Linked DNA regions of Homo sapiens: all the other regions are linked to region 3. The links are contacts of gene promoters, found by promoter capture Hi-C in human tissues and cell types (Jung and others, 2019). All regions are on one chromosome and are shown on one strand. Each heading gives the region's core, a stretch centred on a gene start or on the middle of the fragment in contact. The rest is flanking DNA. Distances are from core to core; before and after follow the strand shown. Region 1 has its middle 48 kb from the start of NORAD. Region 2 overlaps RBM39 (RNA binding motif protein 39). Region 3 holds the start of CNBD2 (cyclic nucleotide binding domain containing 2).

What was found. The method cuts DNA at HindIII sites, captures the fragments that hold promoters and counts their contacts. A contact is called where the count stands out against the background at its distance.
Region 1: a contact is called between a fragment that was not itself captured here and the fragment with the promoter of CNBD2 in region 3, in 7 of the 25 tissues and cell types used here (H1 embryonic stem cells, IMR-90 fibroblasts, aorta and 4 more).
Region 2: a contact is called between a fragment that was not itself captured here and the fragment with the promoter of CNBD2 in region 3, in 1 of the 25 tissues and cell types used here (IMR-90 fibroblasts).

The regions. Positions count from the first base shown.
Region 1 is chr20:36,097,211-36,100,371 of GRCh38, forward strand. It overlaps a transcript of EPB41L1 not described here. Among named protein-coding and RNA genes, the nearest start is that of NORAD, 48 kb to the left of the region's middle. RefSeq lists an enhancer at 518-1,026. The HindIII fragment of the contact is 5,126 bases long and covers 1-3,161 here.
Region 2 is chr20:35,730,789-35,733,999 of GRCh38, forward strand. It overlaps RBM39 (RNA binding motif protein 39), which reads right to left. Exons shown (of 17, transcript NM_184234.3): 4 at 1,153-1,347. Among named protein-coding and RNA genes, the nearest start is that of RBM39, 9.9 kb to the right of the region's middle. The HindIII fragment of the contact is 3,333 bases long and covers 1-2,988 here.
Region 3 is chr20:35,967,065-35,970,104 of GRCh38, forward strand. CNBD2 (cyclic nucleotide binding domain containing 2) reads left to right here and starts at 1,526. Exons shown (of 12, transcript NM_001365709.1): 1 at 1,526-1,749. The coding sequence starts at 1,699. It also overlaps the pseudogene LOC124904982. The HindIII fragment of the contact is 12,223 bases long and covers 1-3,040 here.

The sequences.
Region 1 (3,161 bases), core at 255-2,754, 130 kb after region 3:
GTCCATCTCTGTAAAATGAAGGTATTGGGATGGGTGGCACACTTAGTAGTGGTTACTAGCACTGGCTCTACAGTCATTCGGGGCTTGCCATGTACTAGCTGGGGGGACTAGGGCAAGTGATTCCATTTCCTCATTTCCTTACTTGTAAAACAGGACCAGTACTAGTATCTGTTTCACAGGATTGTTTTGATAATTAAATGAGATAACATCCTTGGAATGCTTAGCATAATGTGAGTGCATAAGAAACATTTGATAAATGTCAACTATTATGACCATTATTGCTACTCCACAATTCAGCTCAACATTCTTGAAGGCCTTTGTATTGGGCCCTAGGCCTACAAAAACAGAAATGAATCCAGCAGTATTCACAGGTTGGGGGTGGGAGCAGACATGTAAAGATGCAATACCACCGCAAGGACAATGTACAAGCTGCCAGGGTGTGGCTGTTTATGGAGGAAAAGGCTTCCTGGAGGACAGAGATGGTGTTTGGGCTGGATTTTACCGTCTGGGTATTTGAAATAGCATGTGCAAAGGCAGAACGGCTTCTTAGGGGAACCCCAAATAGTTCCACATGGTTGGAATAGGAGGTGGTGAGTGGCAGGGATGAGGGTGGAGGAGTGAATGACTGGAGATAAAGCTGAGAGGAAGATTAGGGACAGATCTGGTGCAGGCCAAAGAGCCTGAGCAAGTCCTGCAGACGGCAGGGAGCTGGGGAAGAGGAGTAAGCCAACCAGGAAGGATCAGATTTGCATTTCAAAAACACAGCTCTCCAGGTGGTGACAGAGGATGGTTGGTCTGGGAGGAAGGGAAGGACTGTTGACCTGGAGACCTGGGCACAGAGGCTGCTAAACAAGCTCAATGGGAGGCCCCACTGGGGTGGATAGATACCTAGAACAGGCTGTTCTAGGAAGCTTTTTCCTCTGTAAGCCTGTCTTCAGCCTGGTTTCACGACAGCCTGGCCCTGGAAGGTGCAGGAGAGGTGAGAGTGACTTCTCATGAGGAGCCTCTGGGTCCTCTTTAACCTCTAAAGCTGCCTAATGAGTGGGAATCTGAAAAACAGAGTTTGAGGGTCCTAGGTCTGCTACTCAAAGGATGCACAGTGTATTAACTTCCTAGGGGTGCTGTCATGAAGCACGCAAACCAGGTAGCTTTGAACCACAGACATTTACTCCCCCACTTGTGGAGGCTAGAAGTCTGAAATCCAGGTGTCAGCAAGGTTGGCTCCTTCTGGAGGCTCTGGGGCAATCTGTTTCCTGCCTTTCTCCTAGCTTCTGGTGGTTGCCAGCAATCTTTGGCATTTCTTGGCTTGCAGCTGCATCTGCCTCTGTCGTCACGTGGCTTTCTCTCTGTTTCATTTCCTCTTCTAAGGACACCAGTCATATGGGATTTAGAACCCACCCTAGTCCAGTATGACCTCATTTGAACTTGAGTAATTGCATCTGCAAAGACCCTGTTTCCAAATATGGTCACATTATGAAGTTTTAGGTAGACATAAATTTGGGTTGGGAGGGGACACTGTTCAACCCAATACATGCAGGAAGTTGGGGAGGAGTGCATGCCTTTTAGTTCCACAGGGCTACATCCAAATTTAGGCTTTGCAGTGGAGCCTCTATGAAATGGAGACAGTAGGCCAGGCATGGTTGCTCACGCCTGTAATCCCAGCACTTTGGGAGGCCGAGGTGGGCAGATCATCTGATCAGATTTGTATTTCAAATTTGAGTGATCTGAGGCGGATTATTCCTGAGGTCAGGAGTTTGAGACCAGCCTGGCCAACATGGTGAAACGCTGTCTCTACTAAAAATACAAAAATTAGCCAGGCGTGGTGGCGGGCACCTGTAATCCCAGCTACTCGGGAGGCTGAGACAGGAGAATTGCTTGAACCTGGGAGGCGGACATTGCAGTGAGCTGAGATTGTGCCACTGCACTCTAGCCTGGGTGACAGAGCAAGACTCCGTCTCGAAAAAACAAAACAAAACAAAACAAAGAAATGGGACAGTAGCACCTACAGTAGTGTCATGGTCATGAGACTTGATCAAAATAACAGATATGAGCATGCCTAATGAGGTAGTACACAGTAGGCACTCAATACCTACTTCCTTTCCAGCTCTCCCTTCTCTGCACTTAGGAGCTTGGACAAGTCACCTAATCTTGCTTTACTTTCCTCATCTATCAAATGTGAATAATCATCATCCAGCCCTGCCTACTTCACCAAATTGCGATCCCAGGAGATAATGAGAAAGCTCTTTGTAAATTGCTTAAGGGCTTGTAGCTGTGATTTTTAATTATAATAATAATCATCATAATAACCCTTGGCCATTGTCATATCCGCTGCATTCTCCTCAGAGCCCAGCCCAGCCCAGCCCGCTCCTCTCCTGAGACAGGTCCTCTTTGCCTGTTTGTGCTCAGAGGCATCCCATGAAGTGTCGCCTCTGTCTGAGTTGGGAGGACCTTAGAGATGGTCCTTGCCGTTGCCCTTATTAGCCTGAGGAGGGAAACATGCTCAGGGAGAAAAAGTGACACCCGCAAAGTCACACAGCTGGTCAGTGGTAATTGGAACACCTTATCTGTGGCTCCTGTCTTCAGTCTGAACAGTGCTTTTTCCCTAGTTGCAACTTTAGGCCCAGAAGCAGGAGCTCAGGGCAGATAGAGGCCTGGAGTGGGCTCTGCATATGTTCCAGAGGTGAGGATGCAACAGGAGAGTGTCCTGCTGTCAGGATTAGAACCCCAAGAAAGGGGTCCCTGGGCTCTGAGTGAGCAGGCTGAATGGGCCGGTTGTTCTGTTATCACTCTGGCTATGGCCATCTCTGCCTACTCTGGTGGGAGGGCCACCATGCGGGGCTCTGGAGTCTAGATGTAACCCAAGGCTTCAGTGTCCCTGTTGACAGCCAGGGTGGCATTTCTCAGCAGGTCCTGTCCCTCTAAGCCTTGCCTTGGTGGGTCTAGGGAAAGCTCTGGGAAAGAGAGAGGGCTTATACTGTCCTGGTAGTTTCTGGCAAGTCATCTTCCTTTCCCCCCACACTGGGGAAGCCAGGCCCCTCCTTGGCCCCTTGATTCTTCTTTCCTTTCCTCCCTCCTCTTCTCAGTTTGCTCTCTCCCTTCTGTCTGCTTTCTCCCCTTCCCTCTCCCCACCTTGTCCCCAGATTAGAGGTCTAAAGATAGAG
Region 2 (3,211 bases), core at 72-2,571, 240 kb before region 3:
AGTTCCTAATGTTGTACAGCATTCGAAATTAAAATAGCATTGTGGTCCCATTTTCAGCTATTAAAAAGTTAATGAAATAAGCAGCTTGGAGGAAACCAGCATCACGGAGTTTAATTCTTTTTATTTTAAAGATAAAAGAGCCAGAATCGGAATTCATGTAATGCCAAAACATTTCATGAATCCATTAAGTCCTCTGAGCACTTTACATTTTCTTCTCATTCATTACTCATTAATAGCTTATCTGAAACTTATTATCTCCTTAAAAGGTTAGAAAACAAATGCTTAGCTTAGGGGATTAAGTATCTTGCCCAAGTGATTCGGGTCTGTTTGTCTTTGAATTCCATCCTTAACCATTCAAATCTTAGAAGTTAGAAGGGTTATTTTTAATATATCCCAGAGTTTACAGCACTGTGTTTATTAAGAGGAATTAACCTCATAAAGCATTAAAGATTGCTAGATGCAATCCTTAGAATTGTAGGTGGTTAATATAGTTATTTAATAACCATAATATATTTGTTTCCAACTTTAAATATCCACATCCAAATTTCTAGTGATCTAATCTTCAAAACACTTTTAGTTTGGAATACCTTTTATTATTATTAACAAACCTTAAATACAGATGAGCCCAAAAAAGGATCTTTATCAATGAGCATACACAACAAATTCACAACTGGCCTGACATTTCAGCTGAAAACAGCCACGGTGACAGACTTTTTATTTACTGTTAACTAATTATACATGTGTAACTTAGTATTCATCAGAACTTTACAATTTTAAGTAAATATGTATTTAGCAAATACTGTAACAGCCCAGACACTTGTTAAGCTTTCTTAGGTATTTGGGCACTACAATGTCATCTTTTTCAAGCACTCTAGTGCTTTCATCCAGTTTGCGTTGACTGGCATACAATTTAGAAACTCTGATAGTTTAACAGAAAATAGTCAGTATGCCTAGTAAAAGCAAATTTTTACTTATTTGTCTATGCACTGTATTTTCACTTTACTAGTATTCAATGCCAATATCCTTAATTCAATACTTTTTAACCAATCATTAAAAAAATAAAAATTCACAATTCAAATCACTCAAGTTAAACTGCCATCTGAATACCCAGAGAATAACCCTCAAACCAAAATCATAACTATAGTTACATACTAAGGACTTCTGTAGCGGCCTCTAAATCTTCGATCTCGACTTCTTGAGCGGCTCCGTCGCCTCTCTTTGCTTCTACTTCGCTTTCTTTCACGGCTTTTGCTCTTTTTCCTTTCTCTGTCTCTACTTCGCTTCCGTTCCTTACTTTTGCTTCTCTTTCGTTCATGACTACGACTTCTGCTCTTGCTTTTTTTCCTCCTGAGAAGAAAAAAACTCGCCATTATCATGCTGGCTTAAGAACCCACCAAAATATACTACCTTTTATGGCCAGAATCATTTTTTCATCCTTTCATAAATTTCTTTGGCTAGTTTTACTATGATACAATGGTACATAATCATACTTAAAAAAAAAAAAAAATCCTGTAATCTCAGCACTTTGGTAGGCCGAGGCAGGCAGATCACAAGGTCAGGAGTTCAAGACCAGTCTGGCCAATGTAGTGAAACCCCGTCCCTAATAAAAATACAAAAATTAGCCGGGCATAGTACCGTGCGCCTGTAGTCCCAGCTACTCGGGAGGCTAAGGCAGGAGAATTGCTCAAACCCGGGAAGCGGAGGTTGCAGTGAGCCAAGATCCCGCCACTGGTACTCCAGCCTGGGCGACAGAGTAAGACTCTGTCTAAAAAAATTGCTACGTATAGTAAACAATATCCCTTTTGCCTTATATTAACATTACTGAAAATCAGCAGACAAGACATTATTTGAAAGACACCATCCTCTAAGAGTAGAACTGCAATTATCTCCTGAGAGTTAGCTATAGCTTTAACAAGCAAAAGGGCTTGTTGGCAAATACAAATCAAAATGTGAACCTTTAAATAGTTTGTCATACAACAGGCCAACAAAAGCATTACTGTAATCCACAAAATAAATTAATAAAACAAACTTACAATAGAATATTTTCACATTCAAGTACTAGTACTGGTTCATTTATAAAAATTTTCATCAAATATAGTAATTTACCATTAAGTCAATTTTGCCCCCATTTACATATGGAAATATTTAACACGTTCAAAGGGTCACATAGACATCAACATTTTGGTTTTCATGGGCAAAACCGTAATGACAAAGGACAATAAGAACTAATGCAGGCCAGTGCAGTGGCTCACGCCTGTAATCCCAACCCTTTGGGAGGCCGAGGCAGGCAGATCACTTGAGGTCAGGAGTTTGAGACCAGCCCGGCCAACACGGTGAAATCCCCTCTCTACCAAAAATACAAAAATTAGCCAGGCCTGATGGTGCATGCCGGTAATCACAGCTACTTGGGAGGCTGAAGCAAGAGAATTGCTTGAACCCGGGAGGTGGAGGTTGCAGCAAGCTGAGACCATGCCATTGCACTCCAGCCTGGGCAAAAAGAGCAAAACACCATCTCAAAAAAAAAAAAAAAAACCCAACTCCAAGTGCGGTGGCTCACACCTGTAATCTCAGCACTTTGGGAGGCTGAGGAAGGCAGGTCACCTGAGGTCAGGAGTTCAAGACCAGCCTAGTCGACACGGTGAAAACCCATCTCTACTAAAAAATGCAAGAAGTAGTGGGTCGTGGTGGCACAGGCCTGTAGTTCCAGCTACTGTGGAGGCTGAGGCAGGAGAATCGCTTGAACCTGGGAGGCAGAGGTTGGAGTGAGCCGAAATCATGCCACTGTACTCCAGCCTGAGCAACAGAGCAAGACTGTCTCCAAAAAAAAAGAAAAAGAAAAAGAACTAACGCATTAAAATACAATTTGACATTCCTAGACTTTAATGTGACCATTTCAAATACTTCCTAAAGTTACAATGAATACACCAGAAAATGGAGTATGCCATTTTTAAGCCAGTTTATAGAAACCTGTGGGATGCAATCAAAACCAATGATCAACTTGACCTTCACAGACCTTTTTAAAATCTCTAACTAAAAACCAAAAAAGCCAAACATATCTTTCTGCTCACTTCCGTAGTCTTCACAGTATACCACCCATTCATAATTAAATCTTATAATCTATACCTCTGTGTCATCACCCAAATTTTAGAGGTGCCTTCAGATATTTCAATATAAATTGAAAGACATTTCAAAATCAGTTTATTCCACGAAA
Region 3 (3,040 bases), core at 276-2,775:
GGAAACTCTGCCCCACCTGGAGAGTATCTCGAGACAAGGCCACTTTACAACCTAGTTCTGCCCAAGATGGTGGCAGCTCGACCAGGCGGTAGATAAGGCACCAAAGTGAGTCATGGAGACTCCCACCTGCTCATTCCCTCCTCTGCATGCCATTTATGCCAATTCCCCCTCCCGCTTTTTTTTTTTTTTTTTTTTTTTTTTTTGAGACAGAGTCTTGCTCTGTCGTTCAGGCTGGAGTGCAGTGGCACAATCTTGGCTGACTGCAACCTCTGCCTCCCGGGTTCAAGTGATCCTCCCACCTCAGCCTCCCGAGTAGCTGGGATTATAGGTGCCCACCACCTCACCCGGCTAATTTTTTTGTATTTTTAGTAGGGATGGGGTTTCACCACATTGGCCAGGCTGGACCAGACCTTGCTTCTGTTAATTGGATGCTACAAATGGAGAGCAAGTGTACCTGACATTTAGCTACACTGCTTTCTTAAAAAAAAAAAAAAAAAAAAGGCCCTGGCCAGGAGTGGTGGTTTATGCCTGTAATCCCGGCACTTTGGGAGGCTGAGGTGGGTGGATCACTTGAGGTCAGGAGCTTGAGACCAGCCTGGGCAACGTGGTGAAAGCCTGTCTTTACTAAAAATACAAAAATCAGCCGGGCATGGTGGCACACGCCTGTAATCCTAGCTACTTGGGCGGCTGAGGCAGGAGAATCACTTGAATTTGGGAGGCAGAGGTTGCAGTGAGCTGAGATTGGGCCACTGCACTCCATCCTGGGAACAAAGTGAGACAGTGTCTCAAAAAACAAAAAAGCCCTATCTTTGCAGGACAGGTGAGCCCCCAAATTGAGACTTAGCTTAGGAGAGTTCTTGGCTTTGCCCAAGGAAGGAATTCAAGGGTGAGCCAGTGGTGTTAGACAGCAATCTTTTATTGAATAGTGCTTCTCCTTGTGGGGCAGGGCTAACTCATGGGCAATGAATCCGGAGTCGATACCCAGTGTATGAGATGTTGGCAACTGTATTTATGCTCATCTCTAATCCCTTCTCAGCCTTTTGGCTGAGATCAAGTGTAGTATACGCATTCCTACCCACTTTCAATCACATGCAAATTAAGGGGCAGGCTAATGCAAATTAAGGGGCAGGTTAATGCAAATTAAGGAGTGGGTTTTTAGAGTTTTCTAGGAAAGAGGTAGCAACTTCCTGGTCATTGCCAAGACATTTGTACACTGTCATGGCACTGGTAGGAGTGTCTTATGTTAATGAGGGATGGGGACAGCTAGGGGGTCCTAGATCCTGTTTTGGTCAGCAGGGTTGTGCCATTCTCCTGTCTCACCAGGACTCTGGCAGCCATTTAGCTACTTTGAGCCCCAGTCTCCTATGTATGGAGTTGAGTAAAAGTTTGGGTGGTTGTGAGGATTAGCTGAGATAATGCCTGTGAGTATCCCATAAATGTTAGACTCCCACATTCCAATCCCTGTGTCCCCTGCCTCCAGAATCTTTCATTGTGACCTTAGGAGATTCTGAGAATGATTTTTCTCAGAGCAGGGCTTCCAGTAGCTGATGGTATGGTAGGAGGAGTGGAGTGGAGCTCTTGCCTTGTTACTGAGGAAATCTATTTGTTTCTAGTATTACTGGATTTTTGGGGAAAAATTTGTAGTCCTCCCCTTGAAAGGCAAAGGGGCTAGTTGTGCCATTTGCCTGCACAGGAACCATGAGGAGACATATGGTAACTTATGCCTGGCAGCTCCTGAAGAAGGAACTGGTGAGGAGGGGCAAGGGCCCTGGGAGGGAAGAGCAGAAGACTGAACAGACAGGTGTTTTGAGGAAGGTCGATGCAGGTGTAGGAGGGGTCTTGGATGAATGGTGGCCATCCTGTACCTTTTGGAGTCACAGCATGGCACAAAGGAGGGACCCCTGCCCTGTAGCCTACCAGCCCCCCACACTGGGCAAGCCATAAGCCACACTCAGAGCCACTGAGTCCTGTTCTGTACCCACTCTTCCTGCTATTATGAGATCCAGAGAGAACGAGGGAGGATAGAGTCAGGGTAGCAACATTGAGTCATAGGTTAAGCTTGTGAACTCTGGAGCCAGACTACCTAGGTTTAAATCCCTATCACCTATTAGTCATGTGACCCCAGGCAAGTTGCTTGGTTTGCTGTGCCTTTATTTTCTCCTCTGTAAAGTGAGATGATAATACTAGTACCTACTGCATAAATTTACTGATTAAATGATTTACATATCAGAATAGTGCTTTGGATAATGCCTGACAATAGTAAATTGTACTCAGTAAGTATTAATTTTATTCATAAAGTACCTTTCCCCATATTTCCATAGATATCTAATTTTTAAGAAATAGAACATTACAGGTGTAGGGAAAGCTCTTTACCATCCCATGCCCCTTTATTTCTCTTTAATAGTAACCACTTTCCTGAAGTTGGTGTCACCCTTCCTGTTTATATTTTTATATATTATCACATGTGTATGTATCCATAAACAATATATAGTATGTGGCACACTGTTTAAAAATGATACCATAAATAGCATCATAGTTCTTTTTTCCCACTCAAAATCATTTCAGCTTTATCCACATTGACACACACAGACTTAGTGCTGTGTTCAATCCTGTGACTGAACCATAATGTATTGATCCCTTCGATCCCTACTAATGAACATTTGTTTTCAGCCATTCACTGTTACACACAATGTTGCCATGATTACCCTCATGGCTATCCCCTTGTACATGTATGTTTCTCTGAAGAGGACATATAAAGTACATACAATTCTTCCATTGTGAAGTACACACATCCTCAACTTTATATAATGTTGCCAAATTGCTCTTCAACATGGTTGTACCATGTTTCCCAGTTCCCAGTGATAAGTGCAAAATAGTATCATGTTATTACTTTAATTTCCATTTCCATTATTTCTAGCAATGTTAAAAATGGTTTCACAATTTGGCTGGGGCATGAAGGCTCATGCCTGTAATCCCAGCACTTTGGGAGGCTGAGGTGGAAGGATCACTTGAAGCCAGAGTTGGAAACCAGCCTGGGCAA